Regions from separate parts of the Homo sapiens genome. Here region 2 is linked to region 1. The links are contacts of gene promoters, found by promoter capture Hi-C in blood cells and fetal thymus (Javierre and others, 2016). All regions are on one chromosome and are shown on one strand. The core of a region is centred on a gene start or on the middle of the fragment in contact, and the rest is flanking DNA. Distances in the headings are between cores, read along the strand shown.

Region 1 (5,503 bases), core at 2,583-5,082:
AGAGCAGAAACTAAGTCTTGTATTACAACCAGGTGCTGGCTGTACATAGTACACAGAAACGGGTAGAATTTGCTAACTACTCAAAGAGTGGGGCAGCCAAGATTAATATAAACAGTATATTTAAGGGCATGGAATGGGAAATGGTGTCTACAATAAAGACGTGAATTTTAAAAACTAATGTTTTGAAAGGAGTCATTGTTTGCACTATTGATCATAGAAATATTTTTAATGTTTTTAAAAAGGAGTCTTTTTTTAACATTTGGTCTATAGACTTTTGCAGGAAAAAAAACCTGAGGTTTTAAAAGCTATAGGAAAAAATGTTTCTTGCTTATTTCAAGCAGGAGCAGGGGGAAGGAAATTAGACTAGTGTGGGGAGAAATGAGAAATGAGAGCTACTTCAACTCAGCACAGTTAACATTTACCAAATTAAAATAACAGTAAGCCAAACCAAACTTATAATAGGTGGAAAACAACTAAATACAAAGCTAGAAATAAATTCTTTTAGTTCAACTGTAACTTTCATACTTGAATATGTAACAGCGGTGTACCTGTGACATTAGTATTTCTGAGGCAAAGAGAAAACCTCCCTACCTTGAAAACAAACTCCCTTTTTGGACTAGATGACATTTCCAGATTATTTCCATAATACAGAAAAATCCTAGTTGCAGATTCAATAAAAAACTGGAGAAACAAAAGACAACAAAAAAGTCTCAATTTATAACACCCCAAAATCAAAACTTAAGTGTGGGAAATACAAGACAATCTTGTGGACAAGAGAAATCAGGAAGAAAGAAAAATGACATTTTCCAGGTTTCCGCAGGACTTTCTGATGTAAAATGGTTGAATCAGAATTGAAAAGACAACCAAGAGTCAAGGGCAGTGTCTTCCCAGAACTGCTTTCTTAAGGTAAGGGAGGGGACCAAAGACACTCATTCTTTCCACTAAAAATTTACTTAATGTTTCCCCAGAAACGATAACTGACACAGGCCTCAGTTTTATCTTCTGTAAAATGTCTACTTCCCAGTGTTGTGAGGACAACACAGCTAATATTTATCAATCATGTCACTGGCTTAATTACAACTTATTTAAAATAGGTATTACTACCATTTTACAGATGAAAAAAACTGGATCACAAAGTGACTATAAGATGATGACAGCTTTGAAACCCAAGCATTACTAACCCAGAAACCTCTGAACAGCAAAACTTCGTGCCTCAATACATGTGTTCCTTTTCTGCTCAACCAATTATATTCCTACCATCTCTTAAGAAAAAACGAAAATGACATACTTTTAAAGCAACCTACTATGTGCCTGGCATGGTAAATTGATTAATTTATCCTCATAAGAGCCCTGTATAGTTGGTTTAGATTTAAAAGTTTATGCTTTCCCCAGTGAAAAACTTTTATTTTACATGTAAAATGGTTCTTAAATTGCTTCTCTGACATAAATATGTCTGAGTTTGAGCCCTATGAGTCAGGATTTCCCAGGACTTGATAACCACTCTGGGGGAAAAAAAAAAAAATTGACCATTCAGGTTCCAGATATACAGAATTAAGAATACTGTGCAAGGACAGACAGACTTGGGGCCTGCTGTCCACCAGTGATCTAGAATATTCTACCAATTGAACTTCGTATCTCCAACCTCCCACAAAAGCAATACAAAGAGAAGGCAGTAGAGACCTTGTCTGTGGGTCTTTCCCACCCTGAATTCATTCACATTGATAATCCAAATCTCTGTTTTACATCATCTAATTAGTAAAACAAAAACCATTAAGCTCTGTATGTAGTATATGAAATCTGCTAGGAAATGGAAATTCTAGCCATAACTTAGCTATGAAATACTAATTAAGAAAAACAACTCAAACAATCTCAGCGTATTTGCAAAGCACCTCATATGCATTTTAAATACAGGACCCAGAGAAATAGCTGCGAAAGGAAAGCCAAAGTTATTAAATCCAAAGTTTTTCATTTTCTTGACATGCTCTTTCTATTTAATACAGAAATGTACTAATATAGGTTGCCTTTTGGTATTGTAATTTGGTCAACCAAAACTTGGGAAAAATAGGTCCAAAGTTTTTCATTTTCCTGACATGCTCTTTCTATTTACTACAGAAATGTACTAATATAGGTTGCCTTTTGGTATTGTAATTTGGTCAACCAAAACTTGGGAAAAATAGGTTTATTAATAACAAAATAATGAAAAAAAATGGATTTCAACTAGTATCGATTTTTAGGTGTGTGGGGGCAGGGGCATTCAAGGGTATTATTTCCTAGTAATGATCACTTAGATTCTAGGCCTTACACATGATTCAAATGCAGGAGAAATCAGGAAAGAAGCAACAGATATGGTGGTGGGTATCGGATGTCTAGACTACAGGCAAACCCCAAATACCAAAGAAGCATCCATGTGTCAAACCAGCATAATTTTTGAGCTATGCCTGGGGCCACATACAAAAAAAGAAAAGGTTAGCTTGAAAAGAAAAATCTAGGAGAGGTAACCAGAAGGTCAACCACAGTTCACGGGATCTGGGAAGAAGCTAGCCGTTACCCTGTGTCATCTTCCTGAGCAGCTTCCTCCCCAGCCAGCTCCCCAGCCTCCTTACAATGTTTCCAAAAGGCCCAACTCCCTAAACATTTGCTTCTTCAAGGTCATCCTAAGGCACTGAATAACCACCAAACACTGAGTCACGCATACCTTTCGCCTAAAAAAGATCCCCCTTCCCAAAATCATTATATAAATACTTTAAATGCCATGAGGGTTTTCTCCGAAACTCCACCAGAAACAAACTCCCAGACTTTTAGATTGGGCAACTAAATGTGTTCAATTTTGCGACATAAAATTTTAAAAGGCTTTTCAAGTCTGGCAAATTCCAGTTCAAAAACAGGTGCTTTCAGCGTACTCTGAATAACAAGGTCAAATTCATTTTTAAATTATTAAAAGAAAAAGAAAAGCTTTTCTTAACCCTCCTTAGGACAACTTAAGAAGGGGGAGAAAGAATTGCTGGGGTAAAACTGTCTCGGATAGGGTCCCTGTTTAACTCAAGAGTAAATCCTAATCTTCCGAGTGCCTGAAGTAATGGAAGGTTACAGGAAGAAAATAAAAACAAAGAAACTGACTAGGGTCATAGTTACCAGAACAAACTGCACCGCCCTACCACCTCAAGAAACCAACTCCCCCTACACCAAAACAAACCTTGCCCTTCCCCGCTCCCCCCACCCCCTAGAAACACACAAAGAAACTGGCCGCACGCACAATTCGCCCACAGTCCTCACTTCCCTTAGTAGGGCAACAGGGAGCCCCGGAACTTCCCCACGGTGGTTTATCGGGCGTCGTCGGGGCTGGGTCCCCTGGACTTGCGGGCCACAGCTCGGCTGGGGAGGAGGTGCTCGCCGCCCTCACCCGTTTCTCTGAAAGCAGTAAAATGCCTCCCCGCTCCTCCCAGGGCCCTCGGGTCCCCACCTTCCGTAAATCGTGCTTCCCCCTCGGGCACTCCGGTGACTGCCGAGAGAGACGCCGAGCCAGCAAGTAAGAATGCTCCCTGGTGGATTTGTTGGTAAATAAGACATCTCGCGTCGGGAGGAAAGTTCCTGCGGGGGCCGCTCGCCGGGGCGAGGGCGAGGGCAGCGGGAGGTGAACCGCGTCGCTCGCCGCCACCTCCCTCACCTGCGCCGGAACAACGGGCCCCGCGCCAGCCCGGCCCGGCGCCTCCCGCAGGCCGCGCCTCCCGCACGCCGCGCTGCCGGGGCTTGTTCCTCCTCATGGCTTTGCCCTGACGTAATTCAAACATGGCAACAGTTCGACTTCAAAGGCGAACCCACAGACCTCCCAGACACAGGCTCCCGGGCCACGAGAAACCGGCCGAGCAGTCCGGGCCAAGCTCCCCGGAACCCTCGGCCGTCGCAACCCCCGACGCCAGGGCTGAAGCGCCGGGCACTGCCGCCTCCCTCGGTCGCCCGCCCGCACGCCCGGAGCGGGGAAGCACGCCGCCTCCCTACGCACCAGCATGGCACCTCGCACAAGTAGCGCCGCCAAAGTTTCCCCACGAGGGGGCTGAGGGACAAAAGCCCCTCCCGAAACTCGCCCGAACTTCGAGGGCCTCCGACCTGCACGGCCCTACGCCCAGGCGGCGGCCCCGAGCGCCGGGGGCCCGCACGGGCACATGCAGCCCTTTGTTTTCTGTCCAGCCGGGCGCTGCCTACGTGCAGCATCAGGGATGTCGGAGCGTTTCGCAGGGGCCGGACACTGGACGATCACCCTGGGTAGGGGTCCGGACCCCGCGCCCCGAAGAGTCCGGAGCCTGGCCCCCCGACCCTCCCCTCGGGAGCAGGCCCATTTAATCAAAGTTTTGCAGTGTCCTTGATGAGAAACGCCCGGAGTATCCGCCCCGCACGGGCGGAGAGTTGGCGACTTTCACTCTGCTTTTTAAACTGGCAAGACGCCATCATCAGCAAACCACATTGTCCTGCCGGCCGGACCTGCCCGACGGCGGCCGCATCCCACGGCTCACGCGGGGCTGGACATTCGGACAAGGACCAGGGTCGCAGCCCGAAGCACGTGGTCTGTCACGTAGAGCACAAAAAGCAGTGCCCTGCGGAGTTCACTGACTCCCGCGGCGTACACAACGCCGCCGCCTCCATCTCCAGCCAAGTTGGCTTCCCTGGCCATCTTACAGCGCGGACGGCCGCCCATAAACGGGAAGCCCTCGCGGTGTCGCCCACACCTACGCTACAGGTGAACGCACCGGGAGCAAAACTTCGGGCTCCGAAAGCACCCCGGACACCAGAGGCTCTTGGGCGCGGTCCGAAGAGGGCAGGCGAGTGGAAGACGGGCTGTTTTTAAGCGACCGCGTGTTGCTCTCATTGTCGCATCCGCATCCCTCCGGAGTTGAGCAAACAACGCCACGCCGCGTGCGCTCCGGCAGAGCCCAGCACTGACCCCCAAAGGCCGATTTAAAGACCCTCGGCCGCCAGCTCGGAAGCGGATGGCAACTTAGTTTCCGAGCGAATGGCGTTTATTGTCCACCCTAGTCCGAGGGCTGCAGTCAACTAAACCACGAGGTTTCACAACGGCGCCCGACCCTGCCCGCGCCTCGCGCCCACGCGGACGCACCGACCCCGGCCGCTGCGCGGTGGCCAACGAGTCGCTTTCCTCTCGGGCCTTTCGGCCGCCGGGCTCCTTTCCGCGAGAGAACACTGCGGCGGAGAAAAGTCATTGTCACCTTCAACGTGGATCCCTCAACTCCGGCGACTCCTCAATTATGCCCAGGCTCCACTCACTTCCCCGCCCCGAGACTTTCGGTTTGCCTCAAATACCCTCCCCAATTAATAAATACACACTAAACACGAGCGTACCAAAGAACCTGGGGTCTGAAGATCACGAAAACAGCGCTCCCAACAATGCCACCTCCAAGACAAAACTTCCTGTGTGTATGTGGAAGGACGGGGGGAGGTGGGTGGAGGTGAAAAGAGAAAAAAAAAAACACTGAAATCAAAGCCTCGTGAG
Region 2 (5,503 bases), core at 1,134-3,633, 2.7 Mb after region 1:
TGTGGCTTCATGTTTCGGCAAACAAATATCATCTGGGCTGTCTTCTGTGCAGGAAATGTCATTGCACAAAAGTTAACGGAGGCTTGGAAAACTGAGCTACAAAAGAAGGAAGACAGACTTCCACCTATTAAAGGACCATTTGCAGAATTCAGAAAAATTCTTCAGTTTCTTTTGGCTTATTCCATGTCCTTTAAAAACTTGAGTATGCTTTTGCTTCTGACTTGGCCCTACATCCTTCTGGGATTTCTGTTTTGTGCTTTTGTAGTAGTTAATGGTGGAATTGTTATTGGCGATCGGAGTAGTCATGAAGCCTGTCTTCATTTTCCTCAACTATTCTACTTTTTTTCATTTACTCTCTTTTTTTCCTTTCCTCATCTCCTGTCTCCTAGCAAAATTAAGACTTTTCTTTCCTTAGTTTGGAAACGTAGAATTCTGTTTTTTGTGGTTACCTTAGTCTCTGTGTTTTTAGTTTGGAAATTCACTTATGCTCATAAATACTTGCTAGCAGACAATAGACATTATACTTTCTATGTGTGGAAAAGAGTTTTTCAAAGATATGAAACTGTAAAATATTTGTTAGTTCCAGCCTATATATTTGCTGGTTGGAGTATAGCTGACTCATTGAAATCAAAGTCAATTTTTTGGAATTTAATGTTTTTCATATGCTTGTTCACTGTTATAGTTCCTCAGAAACTGCTGGAATTTCGTTACTTCATTTTACCTTATGTCATTTATAGGCTTAACATACCTCTGCCTCCCACATCCAGACTCATTTGTGAACTGAGCTGCTATGCAGTTGTTAATTTCATAACTTTTTTCATCTTTCTGAACAAGACTTTTCAGTGGCCAAATAGTCAGGACATTCAAAGGTTTATGTGGTAATATCAGTGATATTTCGAACTGTGAAAATGGACTTAATAATTAGACCATTTCTACAAAGAACAACTGAATAGGTGGAAAACATGGAATTTCTTTTAGGTGCAGTGGTGGTCTTCAAATTACATTAGTTTTTTTTATATATATTTTAAACATATGTAAGAAATTAAGTGGCAAAGAACTGAGAAAGCTTAAGACCTGCTTCAAAAGCCTGAAAAATGGAAAAATAAAATTGTTTTCAGATATCTCATATCACTCTCATAATGTTGGCCCCTTAAAAAGCTTGGGAATGTTTTGTATGTACAAGTTTATTAAAACTGGGTATGCTTCATATTACTGGAATGAATTTATTCTCTTCAGAGAGAAATATTAGGTTAGTGCAAAAGTAATTGTGGTTTTTGCCATTGAAAGTAATGGCAAAACCACAATTACTTTTTTACCAACCTAATAACAATGTATTAGCAAATATTTACAAATGGTCAGGTGATATTCTTGATTGAAAAGTTGCTTAACATTTCAGTAATATAATTTTAATTCTAAGTCAAAATACAAATGCATAGATAGTAAATGATAAAGTAGAGACTCATATATGCCTGTCTAGACATCAAATTGTTGGTTATTGTTTACAATCTAGAAATGATGAAGCTCTTTCACTAATTCCTAATATGAAATGTATGATGGCCAAAGACAAATTGTATTGATTATAATCCTTTAAAAGGGGGATTTCCTTTCTGAAATACATATTGTATTAGCTTCCCAGGGCTTCCATAACAAATGACGACAAACTTGGGTGCTTACAACAATTTTCCTCACAGTCTGGAGGCCAGAAGTCTAAAATCAAAGTGTCAGCAGAGTTGGTTCCTTCTGGAGGCTCTAAGGAAGAATCCATAAACAGACATTCTATGTCTGTTTCCTAATATCTTGTGGCTGTGTGCAATTCTTGGAGTTCTTTGGCTTCTGGACAAATCTTGTCCAAGTATTGCAGACAGCAATCTTCACTCCAGTCTCTGCCTCTGTGTTCACACGGCCTTTCCCTCTGTCTTCTCTTCATTACCTTTTAAGGACAGTGTCTTTGAATGTAGGGCCCACCCTGATCTAGGGTGATTGTGTCTGGAGACCCTTAATTATGTTTACAAAGACCCATGTTCCAAGTAAGTTTGTATTCACATGATCTGAGTAGACATTGTCTCTTCGTGGGATACTTTTCAGTCCATGACAGTTACTAAAGGACATTTTAGGATAGTCTTCATATGATTGTTAGGAGACTACCTTTTTAGATTTTTTTTATTATATATCAAATTATAGTTGTATATACTTATGAGAAACAAAGTGGCATTATGATTTTTGAATATAATGTGGGATTAAATAAAGCTAATCTATCCATCACCTCAAATATTTGACATATTTTGTGATGAAAACATTTGAAATTTACTCTCAGCAGTATTGAAATGTACAGTGCTTAATTATTAGCTGTATTCACCATGTTGTGTAATAGATCTAAAAAAAGTCAAACATGCTCCTTCTATCTAATTGAGGCTTTGTATCTTTTGATTATCATCTCCCCATTCCCACATCCCCGGCCTCTAGCAACCATCATTCTTCTCTCTACTTCTGTGAGTTTAATTGTTTTAGATTACACAAATAAGTGAGATCATGTGGTATTTGTCTTTCTGTGCTTGGCTTATTTCACTTACCATAATGTCCTCCAGGTTCATCCATATTGTTGCAAATGACACAATTTCTACCTTTTTAAAGGCCAAATAGTATTTTATTGTGTATATATGCCACATTTTCTTTATCCATGCATCCATTGATGGACATTTAGGTTGATTGAATAACTTGATAATTGTGACTTGTCTGCAGTGAACGTGGAGTGCAGACTTCTCTTTGACATACGGATTTCAAGTCTTCTGGATAAATGCCCAGAAGTGGGATTGTTGGATCAGGAGATAATATCTTAGCCGATACCTTTTAAATAACTCTCAGTATCTTTACTGAGAGGTTAAAAAGTAAGTGACTTCTGAGGTAATATAAAGCTAAAGGTGACTAGTGTTTGATTCCATTATCTATTTAAAAAAATGTCAGAATTGAAAGTTAAGAAATCATTTGGTCTGACCTTATTTTGTAGATTAGGGAACAACTGCTGGGGTAGGATTATTTTGTGTTACTTTTTGAATTTTGTGTTTATTATTTTGAGTGTATTTTTTGGGTTGTCATTCCATTATAGGAAAGTATTATTTGGGCATGTTAAATTTGACATGTAAACTTAGAATTATGAATAGAACACTTCTTTTAACATAATTTTATGTTTCCAAACTTTAAAAGTAGCTATAAGTGAACAAATTACTTTCCCCTCAATGTCAAATTTTGTTTCTCTGAGTTTTAAGTAATGATTCTACATTTACAAATATAAAATTGTGTGTAGGTGAAAATCACAAGTATAATTTGAATGATAAATACAGACCGTTTTTTGGTTGTACTCTAGTACTCAGAAAATAGAGTTGCATTAGTTATAACAGTGATTGTAGAAAAACGTGTTTTACCCAGACTTTTTAAAAATTAGACGAGAGAGGACACTCAGAGAAATTATACTTTTGTCATTAATTTACTATAATAGAGAACTAAATCCGAGAAGTCAAAATTGAAAAAAGAATGTATAATTTAGGGAAAATAACTTTTTGTCTGATAATATTAATGCAAGGATTTTGTATTTAGGAATACTTCTGAGAGGAGAAGCTTCCACTCTGATCTAGTCTGGCAAAATTGAGGAAAATATTCTACCCTGTAATTAAAGAAGACTGCTCTTTGGAGGGATCACTGTTCTAGATTTTTTTTTTTTTTTTTTTTTTTTTTTTTGAGGAGAAGTCTCACTCTTGTCCCCCAGGCTGGAGTGCAATGGCTTGATCTCGGCTCACTGAAACCTCCACCTCCCGGGTTCAAGCAATTCTCCTGCCTCAGCCTCCCGAGTAGCTGGGATTATAGGCACCTGCCACCACGCCCGGCTAATTTTTCCTATTTTTAGTAGAGACGGGATTTCACCATGTTGGCTAGGCTGGTCTCGAACTCCTGACCTCAGGTAGTACACCCGTCTCGGCCTCCCAAAGTGCTGGGATTACAGGCGTGAGCCACTGTGCCCAGCTCTTCTAGTTCATTTTTAAGTGTTGAGTCCCTGCTGTTTTAAGAGATGTTTTGGTGAAAATCTACATTCAGAGAGAAACAGATTAATCTTCCACATTTTTAATAAAATACATATAGTACTTGGGATTTTAAGAAAAGAATGCCATGTATTAAAAGGTGCTATTTTCAACTGTTTATTATTTTAAAACAGGAATGCTTATCAATACTTTTGAATTTAAGATAAATGTCTTGGTTAAATTTTCTAGGCAGTTCAAAGATGGCCATTTGCTGGTGAATTTTCCAAAATAGGTAACAGATAAAATGATTATGTAAGAACTTGGCACAACATATCCTTTTGCCTTTAGTTGTTCAAGAAATGATACCAAACTCAAAGTCATTCACTTGAAACAACTGAGAAGACCATTCTTAGGTGTTTAGATCCTTGCTTTTAGAAATATTCTTAGTTATATTTGTGTTTTTAAGAGTTATTGAGTGGATTTTTTTTCATGAATTTTTAAACATTAGACTTAGCTGAATTGATTAAAATAAGGTGATTATGAAAAAAAATGTTGCCCTGCTTGAGGGCATATGGAGCCCTACAGTTACCGTTACTAAAGTCTGTGAGTATGTCTGTTTTGAAAAGTGTCATAAAAAGATCTAGTCCATAAATCGTTATAGGTTCAGTAATACATCATTTTGAACTGATTCTATCTTCTGTGAAATTCTAGAGATATGTTATCTTTAGGTAAATTAGTAAGATTTCAGGTATGCTGTGAATTTTGTTACGTTTATGTTTTCCATTAATGGATAGTCAGAAATCTTTTGAACTGCGTCTGACTATATTTAAATGATTTGGAAAGATAGTATCTCTCAGTTTAAACATAGCATCTCATTTTGGCAAGATACATTATTTTAGCTGTCTGGACTTTTCTTTGCCTTCTTAGAGTTATTTCTGAAATGTGCATAGCCAGTCATAAAATACTTTGTATAAATAGCCTAGTGTAATTTATTTCTAATAAATACACAGCTTAATGAAATGCATTTCTAGTTTGAACTTAATTGCCACTTGGCTTGATATTATTTTCCTTAGAATTGTTGGAATAGAGGAGAGAGGAAGGGATCTACCATTTTTATTTATACCACCTAAATAGTGGACTGTTATTTTGGACTCACTTTTAAATAAAATATTTATTCATATGAAGAAATACATTTTGTGTTTATTAGGTTAGCAAGCATTTATTATCTTTGAAATAATTGGAATTTCATTAAAAAGTGAAGCAAGTAAGAATTGTGATGTAAATTTGAAAATTTTTAAATGGAAATTTAAATATGACTTAGGAACCATGGGCTTGTAGAAAAAAACAGTTAACATGGGGGTTAAGATTTTTATATTTGGTTGTGGCTCTGGGATCAATAAGGCAAGTGGTTTAGTCTTCAGTCCTCATTTCAGATGAGAATAGTATTTGTCCAAACTCTAGTCAGTGTCTGATTGGTATGTGTATAACCTTAT

Evidence for each region. Contacts are between HindIII fragments. The CHiCAGO score rates a contact against its expected background, and 5 or more counts as called.
Region 2: a fragment that was not itself captured here is called in contact with the fragment with the promoter of FLJ13224 in region 1 in 4 of 17 cell types (activated CD4 T cells, non-activated CD4 T cells, total CD4 T cells and 1 more); the score reaches 10.4 in activated CD4 T cells.

The regions. Positions count from the first base shown.
Region 1 is chr12:31,320,484-31,325,986 of GRCh38, forward strand. It overlaps FLJ13224 (a long non-coding RNA gene), which reads left to right and starts at 3,833. Exons shown (of 1, transcript NR_026806.1): 1 at 3,833-5,462. All of the region lies in intron 1 of SINHCAF (SIN3-HDAC complex associated factor), which reads right to left. RefSeq lists an enhancer at 4,756-5,503. The HindIII fragment of the contact is 3,270 bases long and covers 2,951-5,503 here.
Region 2 is chr12:34,026,034-34,031,536 of GRCh38, forward strand. It overlaps ALG10 (ALG10 alpha-1,2-glucosyltransferase), which reads left to right. Exons shown (of 3, transcript NM_032834.4): 3 at 1-2,269. The coding sequence ends at 882. Among named protein-coding and RNA genes, the nearest start is that of ALG10, 6.3 kb to the left of the region's middle. The HindIII fragment of the contact is 2,454 bases long and covers 1,157-3,610 here.